Linked DNA regions of Homo sapiens: regions 1, 3 and 4 are each linked to region 2. Evidence: promoter capture Hi-C in 16 types of primary human blood cells and fetal thymus (Javierre and others, 2016). All regions are on one chromosome and are shown on one strand. Each heading gives the region's core, a stretch centred on a gene start or on the middle of the fragment in contact. The rest is flanking DNA. Distances are from core to core; before and after follow the strand shown. Region 1 holds the start of SIPA1 (signal-induced proliferation-associated 1). Region 2 holds the start of DPF2 (double PHD fingers 2). Region 3 holds the start of RELA (RELA proto-oncogene, NF-kB subunit). Region 4 overlaps MAP3K11 (mitogen-activated protein kinase kinase kinase 11).

What was found. The method cuts DNA at HindIII sites, captures the fragments that hold promoters and counts their contacts. A CHiCAGO score of 5 or more calls a contact.
Region 1: a contact is called between the fragment with the promoter of SIPA1 here and the fragment with the promoter of DPF2 in region 2, in 1 of 17 cell types (neutrophils). The highest score is 5.4, in neutrophils.
Region 3: the fragment with the promoter of RELA here is called in contact with the fragment with the promoter of DPF2 in region 2 in 1 of 17 cell types (neutrophils); the score reaches 5.8 in neutrophils.
Region 4: a fragment that was not itself captured here is called in contact with the fragment with the promoter of DPF2 in region 2 in 1 of 17 cell types (megakaryocytes); the score reaches 5.1 in megakaryocytes.

Annotation. Positions count from the first base shown.
Region 1 is chr11:65,636,851-65,639,810 of GRCh38, reverse strand. SIPA1 (signal-induced proliferation-associated 1) reads right to left here and starts at 1,710. Exons shown (of 16, transcript NM_006747.4): 1 at 1,629-1,710. PCNX3 (pecanex 3) reads right to left here. Exons shown (of 35, transcript NM_032223.4): 35 at 2,372-2,960. The coding sequence ends at 2,833. RefSeq lists enhancers at 1,078-1,147, 2,099-2,889 and a silencer at 1,498-1,867. The HindIII fragment of the contact is 3,649 bases long and covers 1,053-2,960 here.
Region 2 is chr11:65,332,507-65,335,206 of GRCh38, reverse strand. It overlaps DPF2 (double PHD fingers 2), which reads right to left and starts at 1,355. Exons shown (of 11, transcript NM_006268.5): 1 at 1,289-1,355. The coding sequence starts at 1,320. RefSeq lists a silencer at 914-1,003 and an enhancer at 1,054-1,103. The HindIII fragment of the contact is 9,595 bases long and covers 1-2,700 here.
Region 3 is chr11:65,661,308-65,664,165 of GRCh38, reverse strand. RELA (RELA proto-oncogene, NF-kB subunit) reads left to right here and starts at 1,250. Exons shown (of 11, transcript NM_021975.4): 1 at 1,250-1,340; 2 at 1,961-1,987; 3 at 2,078-2,229; 4 at 2,331-2,479. The coding sequence starts at 1,334. It overlaps RELA-DT (RELA divergent transcript), which reads right to left and starts at 1,160. Exons shown (of 4, transcript NR_183625.1): 1 at 1,018-1,160. RefSeq lists an enhancer at 744-943 and silencers at 1,034-1,443, 1,504-1,563. The HindIII fragment of the contact is 22,197 bases long and covers 1-2,858 here.
Region 4 is chr11:65,601,948-65,604,787 of GRCh38, reverse strand. The region is part of intron 8 of MAP3K11 (mitogen-activated protein kinase kinase kinase 11); the gene reads left to right. Among named protein-coding and RNA genes, the nearest start is that of KCNK7, 7.6 kb to the right of the region's middle. The HindIII fragment of the contact is 152 bases long and covers 1,368-1,519 here.

The sequences.
Region 1 (2,960 bases), core at 461-2,960, 300 kb before region 2:
AAGGTCTCACAGGATGCAAGATTGAGACACCCAAAGCCCCAGGGACCTGCTAAGTGCGGAAACGTGACGCCAGAGGCAGGTGCAAATGGTGGTGTGAGAACTTGAGGGAAGCCACACCCAGGCAAGCCCTGGATGGAGTAGGCAGTGAGGACAGGGAGCTGGGGAACCTCCACTGGGGGTACAGGCATCTAATGGTGGGTCTTCATGCAGCATCCAGCAACATCATGCGGGGCTGGGCCGGAGGGGGGTGGAGGAGGGGCTCCACACACCCTTCGTCTGGGGCCTCCAGAACCAAGCAAGAGTCGGCTCCCCAGCCCAGGTGCTTCTACCTTGATTTCTCCTGAATAAACTCCCATGCTGACCTTGAGCCTCTGTTTTCTCATCTCTAAAATGGGGTTAACTGGCCGGGTGCGGTGGCTGTGGCCTGTAATCCCAGCACTTTGGGAGGCCAAGGCGGGGGGATCACCTGAGGTCAGGAGTTCAAGACCAGCCTAGCTAACATGGTGAAACCCTGTCTCTACTAAAAACATAAAAATTAGCCGGGTGTGGTGGTGCGCACCTGTAGTCCCAGCCACTCAGGAGGCTGAGGCAGGAGAATCGCTTAAACCTGGGAGGCAGAGGTTGCAGTGAGCCGAGATCGCGCCACTGAACTCCAGCCTGCGGGACAGAGTGAGACTGTCTCCAAAAAAACAAAGAAAAAAATTGGGTTTAATTATTTCTGTCCCCTCCCAAGGCTGCTGAGAGACTGAGAAGAATGAGGTGAGTGTCGCTAGCTATGTGTGTGTGTGACGGGTGTAGCCCCTGGCTCCATGAGCCAAGCTCTGGGCACATTCAGCGCTCGGGCCTGGGCTATAGTGTGTGAAGGAGTAGGAGGGCATGAGGGAGGGGGTCTGTGCAAGCCCCGCTCCTTGTGGGCTGAGCTCTGCACGCTTGGAAGTGAGATCTGTGCATGTGTGCACCCAGCCTGTGCGCTGCCTCTTGCTGTGGCCCAGTGCCAGGCTCTGGCGCTGCCTTGAGGGGTGTTCTCGGGCTCTGCCCCCCACCCTGAAGCTTCACACAGGGTCCATTGAGGCTAGGACATTCCTCCGGGCCTGTGTCACTAGGGGTGGGGGGAAAGGGCCGGCCCCGCCCCCACAGATCCGGAAGGCCTGGCTGCCCCAGGAGGAGGAGCTGGCCACTTCCCAGCACATCTGGAGGTCATGACCCCATTTCGGCTGCCAGGGGGCGCGACAGATGTTTCCTCCCAGGCCAGGCCAGGGACTGGGGTGGAGGCCGCCTAAGAAGAAGAGGAGCCTCAGAATAAGGGGGAGCCCCGCACACACTTGCAGTGTTGAGGGGGAGGGGGTCACAGTGCCGCCACCAGGAGTCAGGAGCCGCCGCTTCCACTCACCGGCTGGCTGGCCAGGCTAAGCCGTCACACAGAGAGAGTAGGAACGGCTGGTCAGAGACAGGGGGCTGGACATATTGACTCGGGACTGAGCTGGAGCCCGGAGGGAAGTTGGGAGGGTGCTGGCGGCGAACGTGGCGAGGACCCCACTCCCATACACATCACCCGGGCCCACGGCTAGGCCACCTCTCCCCTGTCGGGCCCGACAGTAGTGCCTCCCGTCCCCTGCTCCCGCCAGTACCTCTGGGGCTCCCGCCCAGCCGCCGCCGCCCGCGCTGGGGTCCCGCTGCCGCTCTCCCGCTACCGCTCCCGGCGCCGGCTCCGCCTGGGGGCGGGGCCATGCTGGGAGGCGGGGCCATGCCGGGAGGCGGGGCCGGCCGGGAGCTGTCTGCGGCGGGAAGCGCAGCAGCGGGGATTCCAGGCCTGGCGGAGGTCAGCACCGAGCAGTGCTCATTCTAAGGCCATTTCCTCTCCTGAGAAACTTGTGCCTGCCTTCCAGACCAACCGGGAGGGCTAGCGGAGGCCACCTAGCGTCCAGCTCCCGGCCAGCAGGTGCTCAAGAGTCTGCCACTATTTTATGGAGCACTTGCTAAGCACTGGGCCCTGGGCAACCATTCCACTAGCGCGCTCTCATTTATTCTAAAAACACCTTAGATAGGTGTCATCTCTTTACGCCCTGGAGCAGCTGAGGTGCAGAGAAAGGCTTTGGCCAAGAACAAGCCTGATAAATGTAGGAGCCACCAGACCTGGAAGTCTGACCATATGGTGGGAAATGGCAGACAATACCCTTCAGATAAAGGCTTGAAAAGGGAGCAGCCATGCGGTGAAGAGGACCCGGTTCTACCTGAACCCCACCTTGGTCTGCCCTTGATCTCTACTAGACTTCAGCCCCACATCCTTCACCCCTCTGCGTGCTTGTCCATCCCAACTTAGCCGCCTGTACTATCATGTACCCATTCCCAGGTAGAAAAAGAAACTGCCAACCAAAATCAAAAATAGTGTTATTAATTCTGATGTCTCCGAAGCACAAAAAAAAAAAAAAAAAAGAAAAGAAAAAAAAGGAAAGAAAGAAACCACCCTTCCCACAATTCAGGCCCCAGGTCCAGGCCAAGGGGGCCACACCTGCAGGCAGTGCAGGCCCAGGGGCTGAGGTGGTCCTGGCCACAGGCTCCAAGTGGGACCAGCCCATGGTTTGGCTCTTAGGGCCTGGCTGGGAGGCTGACTGCCTCCATCTGGGGAGCCCAGGCCCTGGACTGGGGATGAGAGAGATCAGGGGTCAAGGTCAGAGGTCTGGGTCACTCAGTTTTGGTACTCTGGCCAAGGCAGCCAAAGGTCAGGGTTCAGACATGTAGGCCAAAGCCACTCAGTTCTGTGGTCCAGCAGAGAGGCAGCAGAGCAGGTCCGTTACTGAATCCTAGGAGGTGGTCCAGTGGGCGCCAGGTAGCTCAGTACTGGTGTTCCAGCAGGGGCTGGGCTGCCGGGCTCTCACGCTCCTCAATAGGGGCAGGCCAGTCGCCCAGGGCACCCATAGGTGTGCCACTCTCAGGGGCACTGCTGTCCAAGCAAGGAATGT
Region 2 (2,700 bases), core at 106-2,605:
TCAGCCTGAAGAAAGAGCTGGGGAAACTGGAGTGGGCAGATCAGAGAGAAAGACAATAGCGTTGGGAGGAGGGGTGGCTGAAAGAGACAGCAGGATAGAGCAGAAAGCAACTTAAAAAAAAAAAAAACAAACCACAAGAGGAGGAAAGGCACTTAGCTTAATGGAAGTGGGAAAGCATTCTCAAAGAAAAGGCTTCAGGCAGGAGGGAGAAGCAACTTACTCTTTAAAAAGGCTCTTAGGAAGAGTGGGGCTCAGGCCACGACAAAGACAGATGAGAAGCTGTGAGTCCCTTAGAAGAGTTACCGAACCTTTACCTCGTCATCCAGTCAAAATGCAAAAACCCTGACTGGACAGCTAGACACCACTCAATTTTCCCACCCTTGCACCAAGCCCAACATACCCATTAAAAGAAGCTCTATTCGCCCACCATGCATTAACCCAATCTAAAACTCATTCTGATTCTTCTGTAGGAATAAATCAAGTCCCAAAGCATCTTTAACTCACAGGAAGCAGTTCATAGGCCAGCGTCCATGGCCCCAACAGCTATTAACTTTAACTTTGCTTGAAATCTGACCAGCACAATGGTATCGTATAATAGGAAGAATGCCCACCTAGATGCCCCTTTAGGCTAAGCTGTCCTGAACGGCTTCGGTCCAGTTGCAGGTTTTTGATGGCTGCTACTGGACGGGGCCAAGGCCCACTCCCCTGAAGTTCCTTCCCTTCTGGATCCGCTCCTCGATAAATTCTTCCCAAGAATATTTGTAGTCTTAGGTACCTGCCACCCAAGATCCTCCCAAACATCACGGGGCTGCCTGGAACTGAAACAGCCAGCCCCGCAGTGCACTCCGCAGGGGCCGCCGAGCCTGTTGCTGCAGCGAACGGGACGGGACGGGGCGGGGTGGGCGGCGGGCCAGCCGTAGGGCCGCCCGGGCCTCGGCCCCGCTCCTCCGGACTGAGGCGTCTCGGGAGAGGACCGGGACGGTGAGTCTCGCGTGCAGGCAGGGCGCCATGCTCTGGAAACCGTCAGCCCCGAGGAACGCTGAGGCCACACAGCCCCGCAGGGATGCCGCCCGTCGGGGCTCCAGTGTGCCCCCACCAGGGCCTCCACAAGTTTCCAAAGAAGCGCAACGTCTTCTCCGGAGTCTCCTGTTGCCCTCCCCACCAGGAGTCGCAACATGGCTTTCCCGGGGATGTCCCTCTCTCCGCCTAGTCCCTTCCCCCACCGCCCCCTACTCCCAGGCCCTTTACAAAACCTGCCGCCCTAGGAGAGAAAGAAACGACCACTCACAGCTTCACTACATTCTCCACCACAGCCGCCATCTTCCCTGTTCCTCTGCCTCGGGCCGAGAAGCCCCACAGTCCGCAGCGCGCAGGCGCCGGGACCGCACCGGGGTACCAGGTTCCTTGCCCTCTGCGCAGGCGCCGTCCGGGCGCGCGCACTAGAGCGAGCACTGAAGAAAGAGCTTTACGCCTGTTCGCGGGGGCCGGGTAGGAAATGCGTGGACCCCACGGGAGCCCGACGCGCAGGCGCAACCGGAGATTGGCATGCATCCCGGAGCTCCGGTTCGAGGCTTGCCTCTAATATTTAGAGGAGCAGGAGCCGGGGCCGGGCGCGGTGGCTCACGCCTGTAATCCCAGCACTTTGGGAGGCCGAGGCGGGCGGATCACGAGGTCAGGACATGGAGACCATCCTGGCTAACACGGTGAAACCCCGTCTCTACTAAAAATACAAAAAATTAGCCGGGTGTGGTGGCGAGCGCCTGTAGTCCCAGCTACTCGGGAGGCTGAGGCAGGAGAATGGCGTGAACCCGGGAGGCGGAGTTTGCAGTGAGCCGAGATCGCGCCACTGCACTCCAGCCTGGGCGACAGAGCGAGACTCCTTCTCAATAAATAAATAAATAAATAAAGGAAAAAAAGAAAAAGAAAAAAGATTAGCTGGGCATGGTGGTGCATGCCTGTAATCCCAGCTACTAGGGAGGCTGAGGTGGGAGGATCACTTGAGCCCAGGAGTTTGAGGCTCCAGTGAGCCACTGGAGCCACATCACTGCACTCCAGCCTGGGCAACAGAGCGAGGCTCCATCTCAAGAAAAAAAAAAAAAAAAAGGAAAAAAAATATATATACATATATATATACACATATATATATACACATATATACATATATATATATACACATATATATACATATGTATATATATACATATGTATATATATATATATATATATAAATATAATCACTAAAGCTGAAAATACACATACCCTATGACCCAGCAAAGTCCACTCCTGGATATACACACAAGAAAGCTGTACAAGAAGCTGAGTGCAATGCCTCATGCCTGTAATCCCAGCTACTTGAGAGGGTGAGGTGGGAGAATCACTTGAGCCCAGGGGTTCAAGACCAGCCTGGGCAACATAGCAAGATCCTGTCTCTTAAAAAAAAAAAACAAAAAAAAACAGGCCAGGAGCATTGGTTCACGCTTGTAATACCAGCACTTTGGGAGGCCACGGTGGGCGGATCACGAGGTCAGGAGATCGAGACCGTCCTGGCTAACATGGTGAAACCCCATCTCTACTAAAAATACAAAAACAAAATTAGCCGGGCATGGTGGCGGACGCCTGTAATCCCAGCTACTGGAGAGGCTGAGGTGGGAGAATGGCGTGAACCTGGGAGGCGGAGTTTGCAGTGAGCCAAGATCGCGC
Region 3 (2,858 bases), core at 1-2,500, 330 kb before region 2:
GTCACCTGAAGTCGGCCTCCCCCGCCCCCTGCCAAAAGTAAACACTTTTCTAATCAGGGCCAGCCACTGGAGAAACTGAAATGAGTGGGCGGGGTGCTAACTCTATTTTCACTTTTCTCTTCCTGTTTCTTCAGAGCCTGGGAAACAAGTCAGAATTTCCAATCTTTTCCAATTCCCACATGATTTCCTAATTTAAGACGAATTCAGAGAAAATAAAAAAGTCTTTCTCCATCTGGAGAAGACTCCGCCCCCTGCAGTGGAGCATCCTCCTTTGGGGATGAGGCCTGGGGTGGGGGTGCGTCAGCCCCAGCCTCCACACGGACGCGCCTTGGGCTTGGTCTTGGGGGAGCTACCTGCACTGTGGGGTCACATGACAGAATTAGTGGTCAGCCCTAGCTGGAGGTCCAGGGCAAACACAGGCGGGGGCAGGGGGGTGGGGGGTCGTGAGCCTGCTGATTCAAGTGTCCCTGTGGGTCCCGCACCTTCTGAGACACAAGCGCCAGGCTTCAGAGACGAGGCTCCGGGATTTACCCCTGGGGGCCTCCTGCTCCCACAGCCGATGAGAGCCGGCAGTTTGGCTGTATCGTAAGCTGGCGCTTTAGCTGGAGAGGGACGAGCCCTCGGCCAGCTCGCCAGCGGGAGGGCCTCAGTCGTCCCATCCGGGCTGTAGGCTCCGCAAAGCTCTTGATGCACTGTCAGGCTGGGAGGTCCGGCCGCTCCCATTCCCCCACAGCCGCATCTAGATTGGGGTGGGTAGGACATTTTAACGTGCTTCTGAGACAGCCACCACCGAAAGGCACCTTTAGCGGTTAGGAAACCCGCGCGGAGTTCAACCACCCGGCCTCTGCGGAGCAGAAGGCCCGGTCGGGCTTTTCCCTGCGCGGGGCGGGCGGCCGCAGCCCAGTAGCCCTGGCTTTGCTCCAGACCCGGCCCAGAGTGACATCACCAAACTCCGCCGATCGGCGGGAGGGGGCCCTGAAATCCCCTAAAAACAAAGTGAGTAATCGGCGGACCCACCCTCCAGGCGGGGCCGGGACCCGGGAGCTAGCCGAGCCACCGGGCACGCCAGCCTCTTCGTCCTCGGCGAGGCGCGCACTTGGCCCCGACCCCCGGCAGCGGCTGTGCGTGCAGCCTCTTCGTCCTCCGCGCGGCGTGCACTTGCTCCCGGCCCCTGCGCCGGGCGGCGGCGGGGCAGCGCGCAGGCGCGGCCGGATTCCGGGCAGTGACGCGACGGCGGGCCGCGCGGCGCATTTCCGCCTCTGGCGAATGGCTCGTCTGTAGTGCACGCCGCGGGCCCAGCTGCGACCCCGGCCCCGCCCCCGGGACCCCGGCCATGGACGGTGAGGTCGCCCTCTGACCCCGCGGGGTGGCATCGCCGGGGCCGCCGCGGCTGTGGCGGGAGCCCCCGCGCCGCTTTCCGCCCCTTCCTGCGCCGACGGGCGCTGCGCAGGGAGCGGTCGGCCTGCCGGATGGTGGCGCGGGGCGGGGCAGGCGGGGAGGGGTCTGACTCAGTTTCCCCTCTGGGTGGAGGGGGTGGCCCTTGACTCAGCATCCTCCCTGGGTGGGGGAGCAGAGGGAACCTTGACTCAGTTTCCCTCCACACCGTCCATGGGGGCAGCTCTGGCTTCGTTTCCCTATTAGGGGAGAACGCATCTGATTCAGTTTCCTCTCTGGAGGGAGGTGGGGCGTGCCCTCCCTCAATTTTCCTTAAGAAAGTACAACAGGCCCTGATTCAGCTTCCCTCTGGAGAAGAAGGATTCCTTACCCCGTTTTCCCTCAAGAAGCAGGTGTTTCTGGTTCCTTTCCTCCACCCCTTAGTTTCACCGCAGGTTCTAGGGAGCAGGTCCTGACTCAGTTCCCCTGGGAGGGAGCCTGGCTTCTCCTCTCCGTGGAGAGCAGATTCCTCCTTGTGAGAATGGGCATTGGGTGTGTGCTGACCCTGATCTCCCTCCCCTTTCAGAACTGTTCCCCCTCATCTTCCCGGCAGGTAAGTGGCCCCCGCGGCGGTCGGGGAGGTGCTCCCTGGGGTAGGGCAGTGGGGGCAGCCGCCTAATGGGGCTGCGGTGTCCCCTGGCAGAGCCAGCCCAGGCCTCTGGCCCCTATGTGGAGATCATTGAGCAGCCCAAGCAGCGGGGCATGCGCTTCCGCTACAAGTGCGAGGGGCGCTCCGCGGGCAGCATCCCAGGCGAGAGGAGCACAGATACCACCAAGACCCACCCCACCATCAAGGTCAGCACTGCGCCAGGGTGTGCGGGGAAGGGACTGTGGAACCCCAGCCCTCTGTGTTTGGGAGTCAGGTTTGGATGTCTGGGCCTCTGTACTTTGGACAGATCAATGGCTACACAGGACCAGGGACAGTGCGCATCTCCCTGGTCACCAAGGACCCTCCTCACCGGCCTCACCCCCACGAGCTTGTAGGAAAGGACTGCCGGGATGGCTTCTATGAGGCTGAGCTCTGCCCGGACCGCTGCATCCACAGGTGAGGTCCCTGCAGGCTAGGAGGCCCAGCATGAGGGGACAGGAGGCGGGCTATGAAGTAGCCGCTACAGTGTTACTCCTTTCTGGACCCAGGGCAGAATTCCTCACTCCTTGCCCTGACTCAGCTCTGCAAGTAAACTGCCTTTGTCTTGAAATTATCTATTTGTACGTTTACTCTAGCAGATGAGTTCCAGGGGATACGGATGGGTCCCTAATCACTTCTGAATTCCTGACCCCTGTAGCTGGAAGGACAAGTCCCTCAGAGTCACGTCTCTTGTTTGAGGAAGAAAACCATTGAACCAGCACTCTCCCCTGGAGTTGACATTGCAGTTGACAGAGACAGGCTGTAAAAAAATATACAGGCCGGGCATAGTGGCTCA
Region 4 (2,840 bases), core at 194-2,693, 270 kb before region 2:
GCTGCTCTCAGAAGAGTCCTGTTCAGCAAGCCGTTTAAACTCACTCCTCCCATCCCACCCAGCCCATCGCCTCTTCCATTCCCTGAGCTACACTTGATAGTTGTAACAACAGCTAACCTTTGTTGGTTCTCTTCTATGTGCCAAGCAGTTCTGTGAGGGGAGTAGTAGTATTGGCCTGCATTTTACAACAGAGAAAACTGAGGCACAGAGAGATTAAGTGGTTTGATGTAAGGCAACCAGTAGAGCAGGGATTTGATCTGCTCTTGCCTGTCTGACCACAGAGGCAGAGCCCTGGGCCTCCATCTGCCCCGCCATTTGCTACTCCAGCAGCTGCACTGCCCCCAGCATCTGTCCTGCAGGGACTGAACTGAGAGCTGGAAGGCCAAGGAGGCTTCTTGAATTCACTTGCTCTAAATTGTACCAGGCCAGATGGGCCAAAGGAGAACTTGAGAGCCTGTCAACCCAGGTGTGTAGGCTGAAGCAGGTCCTGACTGTTCCACAGAACTCTCTGGCCCTCAGCTCCCAGAAGCAGGGGCACAAGGGGCCTGGGCCCCATCGTTCTCAAGCTTGCCCCATGTTTTTTTATCCAAAGAATTTGTTAATTATTTATGAAGAGAAACTACTTATTAGCCCATATATTCATGAATAGTTCAGATCAGTGACAAACTTCTAAGTAATTCAACCCAAAGAAATTCTTCATATTCCAAAATCACTTTGCATTCTGAGAGATAGCAGCCTTCCTCATCTCCTCGAAGTATTTCATGGCATCATAACTTCTGTAGACATCTGTGCCCATAGAAATCTGAAATGCCTTCTTTCTTGGTCCAGCCCCTGCAAACTGAGAGAGCCGCAGCCCCCAGGGATACAGTGAATGCTCCCACAATATGAAATTGCAGATGTGTGGCCAGAAGGCCACATGTCTGAGGTTTCATGAAAGCACTGGAAACCATGGTAGTTACTGTTCTTGATAAGTATGTCGGCCTCAACACCAGTGCCCTTCCTGGCTGATGAAGAAATGGATTGCCACTTGCCCTGAAAGGATGTCAGCTGCCCAGCTCAGTGGCTGGCTGAGCATCTGGTTCCCCTAGCCCAATCCCACACTCCACGCATCATCTGGGTCCATGAAAGTACATGACATTGACCTCACAGCCACCCCCCGAAACCCAGCTAAGAATCAAATAATGGGGCTTCACAGAGGTCCCAGACCCTGTGAGATGGTCCCCGGCATAAGCCATACCACTGGAGAGTCACACACACCCTCACCCTGTCCCCAGTGGGCTGTTCTGGTCCCTGGAGAGCTGGCTGCAAGGAGTGGCACATTGGCAGGGTGCACTCAGCTACGCTGATAGCAACTGCCCTGTGAAGCTTGTTGCCTTAGAGCCAATAACTACGTGGCTGTGTCCTCCCTGTGAGACCTCACGGAAGCAGTTTCGCCTCTATCTATCTATCTTTGGGTCAAGAATAGTCACGCAGCTTTCTCCTAAACAACAGAGTTGCTAACTCTTGCTGCCAGGAAGCTTAGAGGCAGATTCAAATCCTAGCTGGATTATGTTGACCAAGTCCCTTACCCTTCAGAACCTCAGTTTCTCAGGCCATTGACTGCAGGAACTTCTGTTCACTCTCATTTTGTCTGCTGGACCCTATCTTCTCTTCCCTTTGTCTCATTTCTGTCTTTTATTTTTTTAAAGATAGAGTCTCATTCTGTTACCCAGGCTGGACTGCAATGGCATGATCATGGCTCACTGCAAACTCTGCCTCCCAGGCTCAAGTGATCCTCCCACCTCAGCTTCCTGAGTAGCAGGGACTACAGGTGCATGCCATGCTTGGCTAATTTTTATATTTTTTGTAGAGATGGGGTTTTGCCATGTTGCCCAGGCTGGGCTGCGCTTAAGTAGTCCACCCACCCCAGCCTCCCAAAGTGCTGGCATTACAGGTGTGAGCCACCACACCCAGCTTGCTCTTGCTATTTTCTTTTTTTTTTTTTAGAAGGAGTCTTGTTCTGTCACCCAGGCTGGAGTGCAGTGGTGCGACCTCAGCTCACTTCAGCCTCCACCTCCCACGTTCAAGCAATTCTCCCTCAGCCTCCCCAGTAGCTGGGATTACAGGCATGTGCCACCATGCCCAGCTAATTTTTTTTTTTTTGAGATGAAGTGTCATTCTGTTGCCCAGGCTGGAGGGCAGTGGTGCAATCTCGGCTCACTACAACCTCCACCTCCCAGGTTCAAGTGATTCTCCTGCCTCAGCCTCCCAAGTAGCAGGGATTACAGGCATGTGCCACAATGCCCGGCTAATGTTTGTATTTGTAGTAGAGATGAGGTTTCACCATGTTGACCAGGCTGGTCCCGAACTCCTGACCTCAAGTGAGCCACCTGCTTCAGCTTCCCAAAGTGCTGGGATTACAAGCGTGAACCACCATGCCCGGCCTAATTTTTGTATTTAGTAGAGACAGGGTTTGACCATGTTGGCCAGGCTAGTCATGCACTCCTGACCTCAAGTGATCTGCCCTACTTGGCCTCCCAAAGTGCTGGGATTATAGGCTTGAGCCACCACTCCCAGCCTCTCTTGCTTTTTTTTTTTTTTTTTTTGAGATGGAGTCTCACTCTGTCACCCAGGCTGGAGCGCAGTGGCGGGATCTCGGCTCACTGTAACCTCCGCCTCCTGGGTTCAAGCGATTCTCCTGCCTCAGCCTCCCAAGTAGCTGAGACTACAGGTGCGTGCCACCATGCCCTGCTAATTTTTGTATTTTTTAGTAGAGACAGGGTTTCACCATGTTGGCCAGGATGGTCTCGATTTCTTGACCTCGTGATCCGCCCACCTTGGCCTCCCAAAGTGCTGGGATT